Regions from separate parts of the Homo sapiens genome. Here all the other regions are linked to region 2. The links are contacts of gene promoters, found by promoter capture Hi-C in blood cells and fetal thymus (Javierre and others, 2016). All regions are on one chromosome and are shown on one strand. Each heading gives the region's core, a stretch centred on a gene start or on the middle of the fragment in contact. The rest is flanking DNA. Distances are from core to core; before and after follow the strand shown. Region 1 overlaps C18orf63 (chromosome 18 open reading frame 63). Region 2 holds the start of CNDP1 (carnosine dipeptidase 1). Region 3 has its middle 35 kb from the start of LINC01922.

Region 1 (3,432 bases), core at 107-2,606, 200 kb after region 2:
TGCAGGAAGTTGAATCTCTTCCAAAGGAAGGTGTTCATATTTTAAAATAATAGCTTTTAACCTCAATTGTTTTTTTAAATGGAGGATGAGTAAGGGAATTATACCTCCATCTGGTCTTTTGGAGGAGAAAAGACAGAGCCAATGCTCCAGTCTCCTTTTATACCCCTCCCAGCTTCCTAGAACACTTTCTTCCCTGTTCCTCAAGTGTCCTCCCTGTAGGGCATTTTGGCTTGTATTTAACCTACAAGAGTTTGCCAATTACAGCTCTCTTACCCTGGAAAATCTCCCTGAGAGGCACTGTTCCAGTTAGCCAAAGATATAAAGAGACCTCAAGGAGGGTGAAAAAATAAAGTATTAATGGGTGAAAGGACACTATATTAACATTAGACAGAATGATTCATAAACCCTTACCCCATTCTTAACCAACCACCTAACATCTTTTGGGAAACAATGTTCTAACTTCGCTGCCTACTACTTTTCAAGGAAGTCCAACTAAACTGGACAACTTTTTATTGCCTGGACTCCTACCAATAAGGTCCTAATGCCTGGATCTAGACCCATCTTCTCCATGTCCAGTGACTGATCCTTCTCTGAGTTCCTATGTCATTCATTAAGACTAATGGAAATGGAGGAGCAGGGAAGAGCAGAAAACATGAATGCAGGAAGAGGAAGATAAGATATGCTAGTTACGTTGTGAGGTAAAAGAGCAAGGACACGCAGAATGAATAAGGACACATATTTTCCTGTGCACAAGAGATAAATCTTGCACTGTGATGTACTGTGCTTAAGAGATCAGTTGCCTGAAATGTGTGATAAAAACATGGTTAGAGGAGGCATGGTTATGAATGTCAGAAAAGACTGGTTGCAGAGGGAGGACTAAACTGAGAGAAAACAGAACTTAAAATTGAATTCACAGAAGGTAGGTATCAGGTTCAAATGTTTAAAGTTTATGGGTTCCCACATACACCTACTTATATAGCTTGAGTATACATCCTCTGGGTACTTTCTACAGTATTCAGAGACTCAAGTCGATTGCTGCAGGGACCTCAGTAAGTACCAGTACTTATTGTTTACATTGGTCTTTCTCAACACAGATTAAAGACTGGCAAACCACCCAGCTGTTCACCATATACTCCAAGAGACTGCGAATGCTAACCCTTTGTATTTCTTTATTTAGCAAATATTTATAAAGTGCCCTTATATGATGACTAAAACCATACTGAAAAGCAGGTATTCAATAAATATTATTTTCTCCTTATAACGCCAATCTGAACAATTTAGACTTAATTTTCTCTAGGCAATGTTGAAATACTAAAGATATTTAGGCTGGGGACCTTTGTTTTAGAAAGTGAACTCTGTTGACATTGTAAGGAAAAATTAGATAATAAACTTGAAGGAGAAAGGCTGGAAACAGGCCCATATGGAGACTGGTTTAATAGTTCAAGTAAAAAAAGAGAGTCTGAATTAGAGCAACATAAATGGAGGCAGAGAGGAGTCCATTTCAGAGACCACAGTAGGCTATTAAAGACTAACTGGAAAGAGAAAGTGAGAAAGAGGGAAAGCCAAGGATAACTCTGAAGTATTTAGGTAGGTAAATTATTGACTGCTGATGCCACTAATGAAAAGAATAATTACACAGGGGGAACAGATTTGGGGTTGAGGAAGGTGACACATAAATACATTCAGTTTTAGACATAATTGGGTCTGACTGCCATTAGTACATTCATTTGAAAGTATCCAAGAGATGACAGAAAAGTTACAACTATACAAGAATATTTGGGAGGTACTGGTGTATAGGCTGAAGCTACTGAAATGGGTAAGCCTGCTAAGGAAAAGAGGGCTGAAAATGGAACCCTAAGAAACAGCAACATTTAAAATGATAAATGAATGAAGATAAATGAATTCCAGGAGATTCTAGAAAAATCAGTTTCAGATAAATCAAGAGAGGAGATTATTTCAAGAAGAAAAGTGTGAAAAATATTATAAGTGTTTCAAAGATTTCACATATGATTCCCTCAGACATTTTCTTTTTCTCTTAATTCCTCAAGTAACATAGTTCCTATAACACAAATTTTGATACTCCATTAACAAACATTGTTTTTTAATGTATTTTTATTTAACATATATTAGGTTTCTATTTCTGTAAGGCTCTATGGGACATACAAATTTGAACCAAAAAACCTAAGGCTAGGTGAAGGAAGCATGGTACAGCAGAAAGGACAGAGTTGAAGGACAAACTCAGATCCTGAATCTCTTACTACCTTTATGATCCAGAGCAACTTACTTAACTGCTTTGTGTCTTAATTTACTTATTTATAAAATAATAACAATAGCTATCATTTTTTAACCTCTACTGCCAGGTACTATGCTAGGCCCTTAATGTACTTTACACCATAACCTCCTTACAACCCTAGAAGGGATATCATTATCTCCAATTTATAAGAAAAATGGAGATTCTGCGAGATTAACTAACATGCCAAAGAGGCACTGCCAGTAAGTGCCGATCTGAGAATTTTAATGTGATTCTAGGCCTACACTGAATTTTCTGGGTATGTGAATATTAACCAGTACTCAGTAAATGTTCCCTTCTTCTGGTAAGTTTTATGTGTGCATGCTCTTCTTTCTTCTGACCTAGATAAAACATTCTGGGAGGAAAAGGTGTTTTCCATCAGCACTTGGCATATATACATAGTAGTACCCAGTAAATATCCATCTACGAAATAAATAGAAATTTGTTTCGAGGCACTCATTTCCCAAATTTTCCATATAATTAAATTTCAAAGCAAACAGTTTAATATTACATAATGCTTTTCTGAAATATATCCCTCATGTAACTGTGGATTCAATTATAATCTCAATGCACCAAACAGTAAAATGGCAACTTGTGCATATAAATTCCTTTAAGAAACATTTAATTACTTCCAGGAAAGCATTATTTTAAAGTTTAGCACAGTCCAAAATTTGAGAAATGAGTAAATTACTGTTTCAATTACCTCTTAAATTTTTTTATCTCTATTTAAATTGTAAAGATAAGGGCTGAAATCCCATTTTTCATAATGAATTATAATAAACTGCTTCAAAATTTGTCTAAATAGGGTCAAAGGTCAGGATTTAGAAAACTACTCCAATCTCTAGCCCAGAGGAATTAAAAAAGAATTTAGAAACAAAAGTCACCTAGTTCAAAAAATAAATTAGTCTTTCACTCCAGTCAATGCTCCATTCATTCCATAAATCTTTACTAAAGTGAGTGACAGGCACTAGAGTAGGCTCCTATGATAGAAAGATTAATAAGACACAGACCTTCCCTCTAGGACTTCTCAGTTGAATGAGACATTTGCATAGATAATATGTGATAAACAAGGTAGAGAGCACCAAGAGAGATGAGACTTAGGAGCTGGGGAATTCTTCAAAGGGGTGATGTCTGAGATAAGC
Region 2 (3,880 bases), core at 718-3,217:
CATGTCCTTTGCAGGAATATGGATGGAGCTGGAGGCCATCATCCTTAGCAAACTAATGCAGGAACAGAAAACCAGACACTGCATGTTCTCATTTGTAAGTGGGAGCTAAATGATGAGAACACATGGACACATAGAGGAGAACAACACACACTGGGGCCTATGGGTGGAGGACGGGAGGAGGGAGAGGATCAGCAAAAATAACTAATGAGTACTAGGCTTAATACCTGGGTGATTAAATAATCTGTACAACAAATCACCATGACACAAATTTACCTATGTAAGAAACCTGCACATGTACTGCTAAACCAAAAATAAAAGTTAAAAAAAAGTAAAAGAATAGCAAAGGGGAAAATATATAGTACAATCTCTTCCTCTCTTTCATATCAAAGGGTATTATATTGAGTCCAAAACAAAATATTTCCTTCTTTTTTGTTTCAGACAGGGTCTTACTCTGCCTCCCAGGCTGGAGTGCAGTGGCGCAACCATGGCTCACTGCAGCCTCGACCTCCCAGGTTCAAGCCATCCTCCCACCTTGGTCTCCTGAGTAGCTGAGACCACAGGCATGCTCCACCCTGCCTGGCTACTTTTAAAATTGTTTGTAGAGTCAGGGTCTCACTATGTTGCCCAGGCCAGTCTTGAACTCCTGGGCTCAGGTGATCCTCCTGCTTTGGCCTCCTAAAGTGTTGGGATTGCAGACATAAGCCACCATGCCCAGCCAGGGAAATTATTTTCTTTCATGTTGCTTTTAACTTTAATGTTTTGAATAGATACTATCATGACACAGTTTAAAGATTTTTTAAAGTAAGACAGTATTCAGTGAAATGTCCTCTTCTAACCCCCACCCCAATGCCCTGGCCAGTCATGGGTTCTTTAAAAAAAAAAAAAAGTCAGCAATGGAAAGCATGGCCAGACCACAGGGTGAGGTTCTTTCTCTCAGAGCAGTGATTTTGCAGCATGGTGTGGGAATCTCATGGTCTTGCAGGTGGGCAAAGCCCACTTCTAGAATCCGGCTGTGGTCAGGTCACCACCTGCCTGCTCACTGTGTCTCCAGCCTCGCATTTGCATGTATTTGTTTCAGTATGTCTTTTGAGAGTCTTCTACGTATCAACCTTCCACAAAATTCTGAAAATTTCTGTGTGTGTATGTGTGTGTTTGCAATGGAAATAAAAAGCGTCCATGAATTTTATCTTTCCAAGTAGTCTGGAACACAACCCCACAAAACCTCACAGCCAAAGGTACCTGCCTGCTTGTTTTCCTAGAGAGAAGCCTTCCCGCCACACCCACACTCAGGTTTGCACCTGAACCATGGAAACCTCGCCGAGAAAGGCCTGGGGTGATTTAGCCCGGTGATTAGCTCTTGCAAACTAGCCCTTAAGTCGGGAACCTGGGACCAGGACAAACAGCACACTGTCTGTTACCATTATTTAGGCAAATTCTTCCAGGAAGCAAACTCATTTTTTTTAAAGAGAAAAAGTACAGAAAAAAATTGATTTAAGAAGACTGAGTTCATGAACAATTTGAATATGAACTACTTGACAATAATGCCATTTAATTATTGTTAAGAACACACAACTACCCAAAAGCATTACTGATAAAATATAATTCCAAATACCACATTCCTCGGCCAAGACAGCACCTAAGAACACCATGAGGAGCAGCATCTGGGGCCACGCTGGGTGCCTGCCCTGCCCAACTGGGCTTAACGCACATGCTCCCGGGACAAATGGAATTCTGGCACCCAATGCACGGACTCTGATGGAGGAGGTCCTACTCACCATTCTCCCGAGTTTGGGATCCATTAGGCTGGAGTTCTGAAGCCTCTAGCAACTTTCCCAACCTCCAAAAAATGTGGCAGAGGGAGTCCCATGAAAGCCCCAAGAGGGTGACATTAAATATCTCTCTGTGCCCTGACCCACGTTGTCCCCCGGAAGGAAGACGAGGCTGGTATAGTGGAGCTATTCACATCTGGAGAACAAAGCGGCTTCGGAGGTATTCATTCAGCTCAACTGCAGAGGAAGAGACAATGCATCTCATACGCGCAGATACGGGATGAGGCAGTGGCCCCAAAGTCATGTGATGTCACTGGAAGCCAGCAGCCTGGCCCAGCCTGCGACTCCTCGGGTTCTTCTTTGGGGGCACTTGTGTGTCATCTCTGAGAGGGAGTAGGGCCCCGGCCAGCAGGCAGAGCTGAGCCAGCGGCACAGCCCCCTCAGGTGACAGCCCCCTCACATGACAGGCCCCCACACACTGTGGCTGTGGGCCCTTGTGATGGAATGTTACGGCCGAGGATTAGCTTCCTAGGGCTGTGCAGGGGCCGAGGGTAGAGTTTTCCCAGCTCTCTGAAGGTTCGCTGCAAAATCAGCTTGCAAAGGGCAGTTGAATTGGAGAAGAGGCATAACAGATTGATTTGCTCCTAGTTTTAAGTGACATGGGAGCCTTCAGAAGGAAGGACCAATCCCTAATGGGGTTGGGAAGCTGAGACACCCTCTTGAGGTTCCACAAGGAGTGGCGGCTTAGATTCTCGCGCAACAGGTTATGGGAGGAGAAAAGAGGACTTCAGCTGAGGGCAATCAGCGCTCACGAGGGAGGATTCAGTGGGCTTGAAGAGCACGCCACGGTCTTCGTTCAAGTCTGCTGGGCCCCGGAGCAGACAATGGTCTTGACAAGTCTGTCCAGCGTGTTCGGTGTCAGCCTTCCTTCCTGAGATATGGGTTCAGTTAACGAAAACTCAGGGAAGGGACTAGAGGTCATTCCTTTCTTCTTTGGTGGGTCAGACTTGAAGGAGATAAGGACACTTCAGGAACTCTGGGAGAGATGGTGGGGGTGGGGGAGCCGAGAGGCCTTGAAGTTCCTTTTCAGTTCAGCTTGAACAAAGCACCATATTTTGGGGTATTGGCTTCTGAGCCCCAACATCTGCTCTAACAAAAGTACCCTACACTGGGTGGCTTAAGCAACAGAAATCGGTCTCAATTCTGGAGACTGGAAGTCTGAGATGAAGGTATGGGCAGGGCAGGTTTCTCCTGAGGCTGAGCGGGAAGGGCGTGCTCCAGGCCTTGACCCGCGTGGCTGCTGGCCGTCCTTGGTGTCCCTTGTCTTGTACAAGCATCACCCGATCTCTGCCCTCATCTTCTTATGATGTTCTCCCTGTGTATGTGTGTGTGTCCAGATTGTCCCTTCTCATAAGGACACAGTTGTGTGTAATCAGGGGTCCATCCTATGCCCATGTGACCTTATCTAAAGATAAGTAATTCAATCTGCAATGACCCTATCTCCATAGAAGGTCACATTCTGAGGTCTTGGGGGTTAGGATGTCAACATATAAATTTTGGTGGGAAGGTCAGGGGACAGTAGAGAAAAGGAGGCAGCAGGGCACAGGCCAGAGCCTTGGGTTGAGGGGTCCCGGGGCTTTTCTGGGGGACTGGGATTCTTTTGCATCATTTCTCTCTGAATAACTCTTGCAGGGATTGGCACACTGGAGACTTACTCTAACTGTTTGCTGAATGAAAGGACAAATAATCAAATAATTTTTACCAACAAAGAAATCTCTGGAAAGGCAGAGTTGGAACTCATTATCCCTGCTAGTTAAGGCTAGCTGTGGCTATCAGGGCCGGGCCCCTCTCCCTTGCAGAGGGGCAGCGTCTCCACCAGCTGCGTCTCTGCACCTCCTCCCCATCCTCACACCCTTTCCCTGACACTTGCCAGGCCGGGCTCCTTGAGCTCCAGGCCCAGCACAGCAGCTCCCAGGAAGTGGGCCTGGCCCTTCTTCCGAAGGCCAAGTTGCTGGGATCATACTCAGAATTCCGAGGGCTGGAAAGGAAGGAGAGGGTGAGGCTGGGCCCAGGTGTGGGCTGTGATCCTAGGAGGGTGGGGGCCCTGCTGC
Region 3 (3,454 bases), core at 524-3,023, 160 kb after region 2:
GCACCCTAATAATTTGGAAGACTGTGGGGCTGGATTATCCCAACTAAATTTCACAAATAAATTTTTCTTCTAAAATAAGTGGTTATAACCACTGCTGATTACCCTGGGAAGGGGTCACTAGTCCATGGCAACTGCAGCCCAGAGTGGAATGAAGAGAAGGAGGTGGAAGCTCGTGAGGGAGCTGTTCTGTAACCTCCACTGCTTACTCGCTTCTTTAATGACTTGCAAGTGACTCAGATCCAACATACACAACAGTAAACCCATGAAGTTCTTTCATGCCCTCCCCTACCCATGTTTATCACCCTGGATTTTGCCATCTCCGTGAATGGGACCATCATCCACCTGCTTGCCCATGGCAGTAACCTCAAAACTGCGCATGACTCATTGCTTTCTCCATCGTCTCTGGATCTCATTAATGATCTGCTAGTGATCTCATGCTTCTGGCCATGAGGGAGTAAGACGGCCTGTGATCTCCCTCCCTCTGTAAGCAACTATAAAAAAAGGATAAAATATAGAAAGCCACTATTTGGATATAGGGCAAAACAAGACTGTGATTCCTGAGAAAAAGGAAGAAGACAAGGTAAGCCCTACCATCAGCTGGCCTTTCTGCCTAGAGATAAGTCCTGGGCTACAGTCCAGGGAGGGAGAACTCCAAAAAAGTGAGGCAGCTTCACAGAGCTGCAGAGACAGAGGTCAGAGATGGGGAAGGCCAGGCGGCTCTGTGAAGAACCTGTGAGGCAGAGTTCTCAAGGGAAGGGGCTACACAGATAAAAGTACTCCGGAAATCTGCACATGAGTTCATGGAATCTTTTTAAAACAGAAGTCTATAGAAATATAAGGCCAGATAAGAAAAGCTTCTGGTGAAAGAGTAATTATGAGGAGTTCTTTTTTTTTTTTTTTTTGAGATGGAGTCTCACTCACTCTGTCGCCCAGGCTGGAGTGCAGTGGCATGATCTCAGCTCATTGCAACCTCCACCTCCCATGTTCAAGTGATTCTCATGCCTTATCCTTTTGAGTAGCTGGGATTACAGGCACCCACCACCACACCCAGCTAATTTTTATATTTTTAGTAGAGATGAAGTCTCACCATGCTGGCCAGGCTGGTCTCAAACTCCTGGCCTCAAGTGATCTGCCAGCCTCGGCCTCCCAAAGCACTGGGATTACAGGCATGAGCCACTGCACCTGGTGAGGAGTTCTAAAATGAACAATTCCCTAAAATTGCAAAGCCAAAAATCACTCAAGTTCCCTCCAGCCAGAGAGAGAGACCTCACTGAATATATGGGGCATTTAGAACAAGCCCCAGAAAGGCCATGACTTAGAAGAGGAGTCAAATCAGTCCTGGAATAAAGGCTACTCTAGGCCCCAAAAAGCTTATAAGTAAACCTCAAGGGAATCAAACTAATTTCTGAATAATTTATAGAACAAGTAGATAAAAAATCAGTAAGGATATAGAAGACTCGAACACAGTATTAATCAATTGACCTCACTGACATGTATAGATGGCTTTACTCAACAACAGCAGAACACATATTTTTCATAAGTGCTTGTAAAACATTCGCTATACCAGATCATACATTAGGCTATAAAATAAGCTTACATAAATTTAAAATAGTAACCACAGTGGAATAAAACTAAATAGCAATAAGAGAAAGGTATAATATATGGAAAAGCCACAAATATTTGGAAATTAATAAGCTTCTAAATGGAAATTGGAAAGTATTTCAAACTGAATGAAAATGAAAATATAACATGTCAAAATTGTGAGATATAGCTAAAGCAGTGATTTGAGGATTATAGCATTTCATGCTTTTATTGGCAAAGAGAAGTCTAAGGTCAGTCATCTAAGCTTTTACCATATTCAGTTAATAGTAAATCCTGTCAATTGTACTTCCTAAATAACTCTTAATCAGTTTCCTTCCCTCTGTCCTGCTGTCACAGCCTCCTGATCCCCCTATCTTAAGTCATCTCCAACCCCAAATTCCCAGTTCTTTCTTGTCAGCTGCACCTCTCACCACTACTTTCTCCTTGCACTTCAGCCTTACTGATGTCTCTAGTTCCTTAAAGCTCTCATGGTCTTCTCTGGGTCATCTCACACACATTTTCCTTGCCTGACCACTCTTTTATTTCCAATTCACCCTGCTAATTCCCACCCATGGAATTTCTCTTCTTTCTGGAAGGCTGGGTCCTGCTATACGCTTCCGTTCTAGCTCATTGTACTTCCTTTGTGGTGGCATTTAACCTATGCTCGTGATTTCTTTAATTGTCTGTCTTCCCCAGCAGCTGGGTCTCGTCTTGTATATCACATTGTGTATCTGTCCCCTTGCACACTTTCTGGCACTTATTGAGTGCTTAACATCTATTTGACAAATGAATGAAAGCCTATTTTAGTGGAAATATGACCACTTAATTTGTAGTTACAGGTTGAGAAGATCAGCATTCCTGGATCACAGTTCGCAGTCAACATTGGGCATCTCCCAGCATCCATTTGTCTTTCTTTTTTAATAACCGCCCTGAATTCTGTTGGGGGCTCATGAGGTTCCTGAGAAGCCACTTATCCCAGCTCAAGTAGTTGCTCAAATATTCATCATTGAGAAAACAGATCTGTTTTTGTGGCTTCAGTTACTTAAAACTATCATTTCTCAGTTAAATATGTTATTGGGATTCCCTGGAAGTGTACAGGGTCCTCCCATTAAGTCATCCCCCTTTAATGAGCGGTACTGGGGTGAAGGTATCTGGCAGGTTCCTGTTAGGCTTTTCTGGCTTGACTATTTACTTTTTTTTTTTTTAATTATACTTTAAGTTTTAGGGTACATGTGCACAACGTGCAAGTTTGTTACATATGTATTAGCTTCGCATGTTCAAAAGGATGTGGGTGCTTACCTAGTGCCCTAGAAACAGCACAAGCCATAACGTGACGTCTCTGAGTGAAACAGGCCTAAAGCCACAAAGGAGATAAAACAGATAAGGTAAGAATAAGACGAGAAAATCAAAGTGGAATTAACCTAAATTTAACACTATCACTCCTGTGGTATCTGCACATATCAAACAAAAGGAAATAGCTATCTGGCTTGACGGCAAAATGCCGTGCCTCGTGCCACCTTTTTTAAAAAAACAATAATATGAATGATTTTTTCCTTGATAATACAAATAATTCATATTCATTATGGAAAATTTGGACACTTTTTAAAAGTATTTAAAAATGGGTCACCCAAAATAATACACAAAATACCCACTGGTAATGTCTTTTTTTTTTTTTTTTTTGAGACAGAGTCTTGCTCTGTTGCCCAGACTTGAGTGGAATGACATGATCTCAACTCACTGCAACCTCCGCCTCCCAGGTTCAAGCAATTCTCTTGCCTCAGCCTCCCAAGCAGCTGAGATTATAGGTGCCCACCACCATGCTGGGCTAATTTTTGTATTTTTAGTAGAGGCGGCTTTCACCATGTTGGTCAAG

The links. Contacts are between HindIII fragments. The CHiCAGO score rates a contact against its expected background, and 5 or more counts as called.
Region 1: a fragment that was not itself captured here is called in contact with the fragment with the promoter of CNDP1 in region 2 in 1 of 17 cell types (naive CD4 T cells); the score reaches 5.1 in naive CD4 T cells.
Region 3: a fragment that was not itself captured here is called in contact with the fragment with the promoter of CNDP1 in region 2 in 1 of 17 cell types (naive B cells); the score reaches 5.6 in naive B cells.

The regions. Positions count from the first base shown.
Region 1 is chr18:74,334,986-74,338,417 of GRCh38, reverse strand. All of the region lies in intron 7 of C18orf63 (chromosome 18 open reading frame 63), which reads right to left. Among named protein-coding and RNA genes, the nearest start is that of C18orf63, 21 kb to the right of the region's middle. The HindIII fragment of the contact is 4,991 bases long and covers 1-3,432 here.
Region 2 is chr18:74,532,587-74,536,466 of GRCh38, reverse strand. It overlaps CNDP1 (carnosine dipeptidase 1), which reads right to left and starts at 1,967. Exons shown (of 12, transcript NM_032649.6): 1 at 1,776-1,967. The coding sequence starts at 1,799. The HindIII fragment of the contact is 13,353 bases long and covers 1-3,880 here.
Region 3 is chr18:74,373,092-74,376,545 of GRCh38, reverse strand. No RefSeq gene overlaps it. Among named protein-coding and RNA genes, the nearest start is that of LINC01922, 35 kb to the left of the region's middle. The HindIII fragment of the contact is 151 bases long and covers 1,698-1,848 here.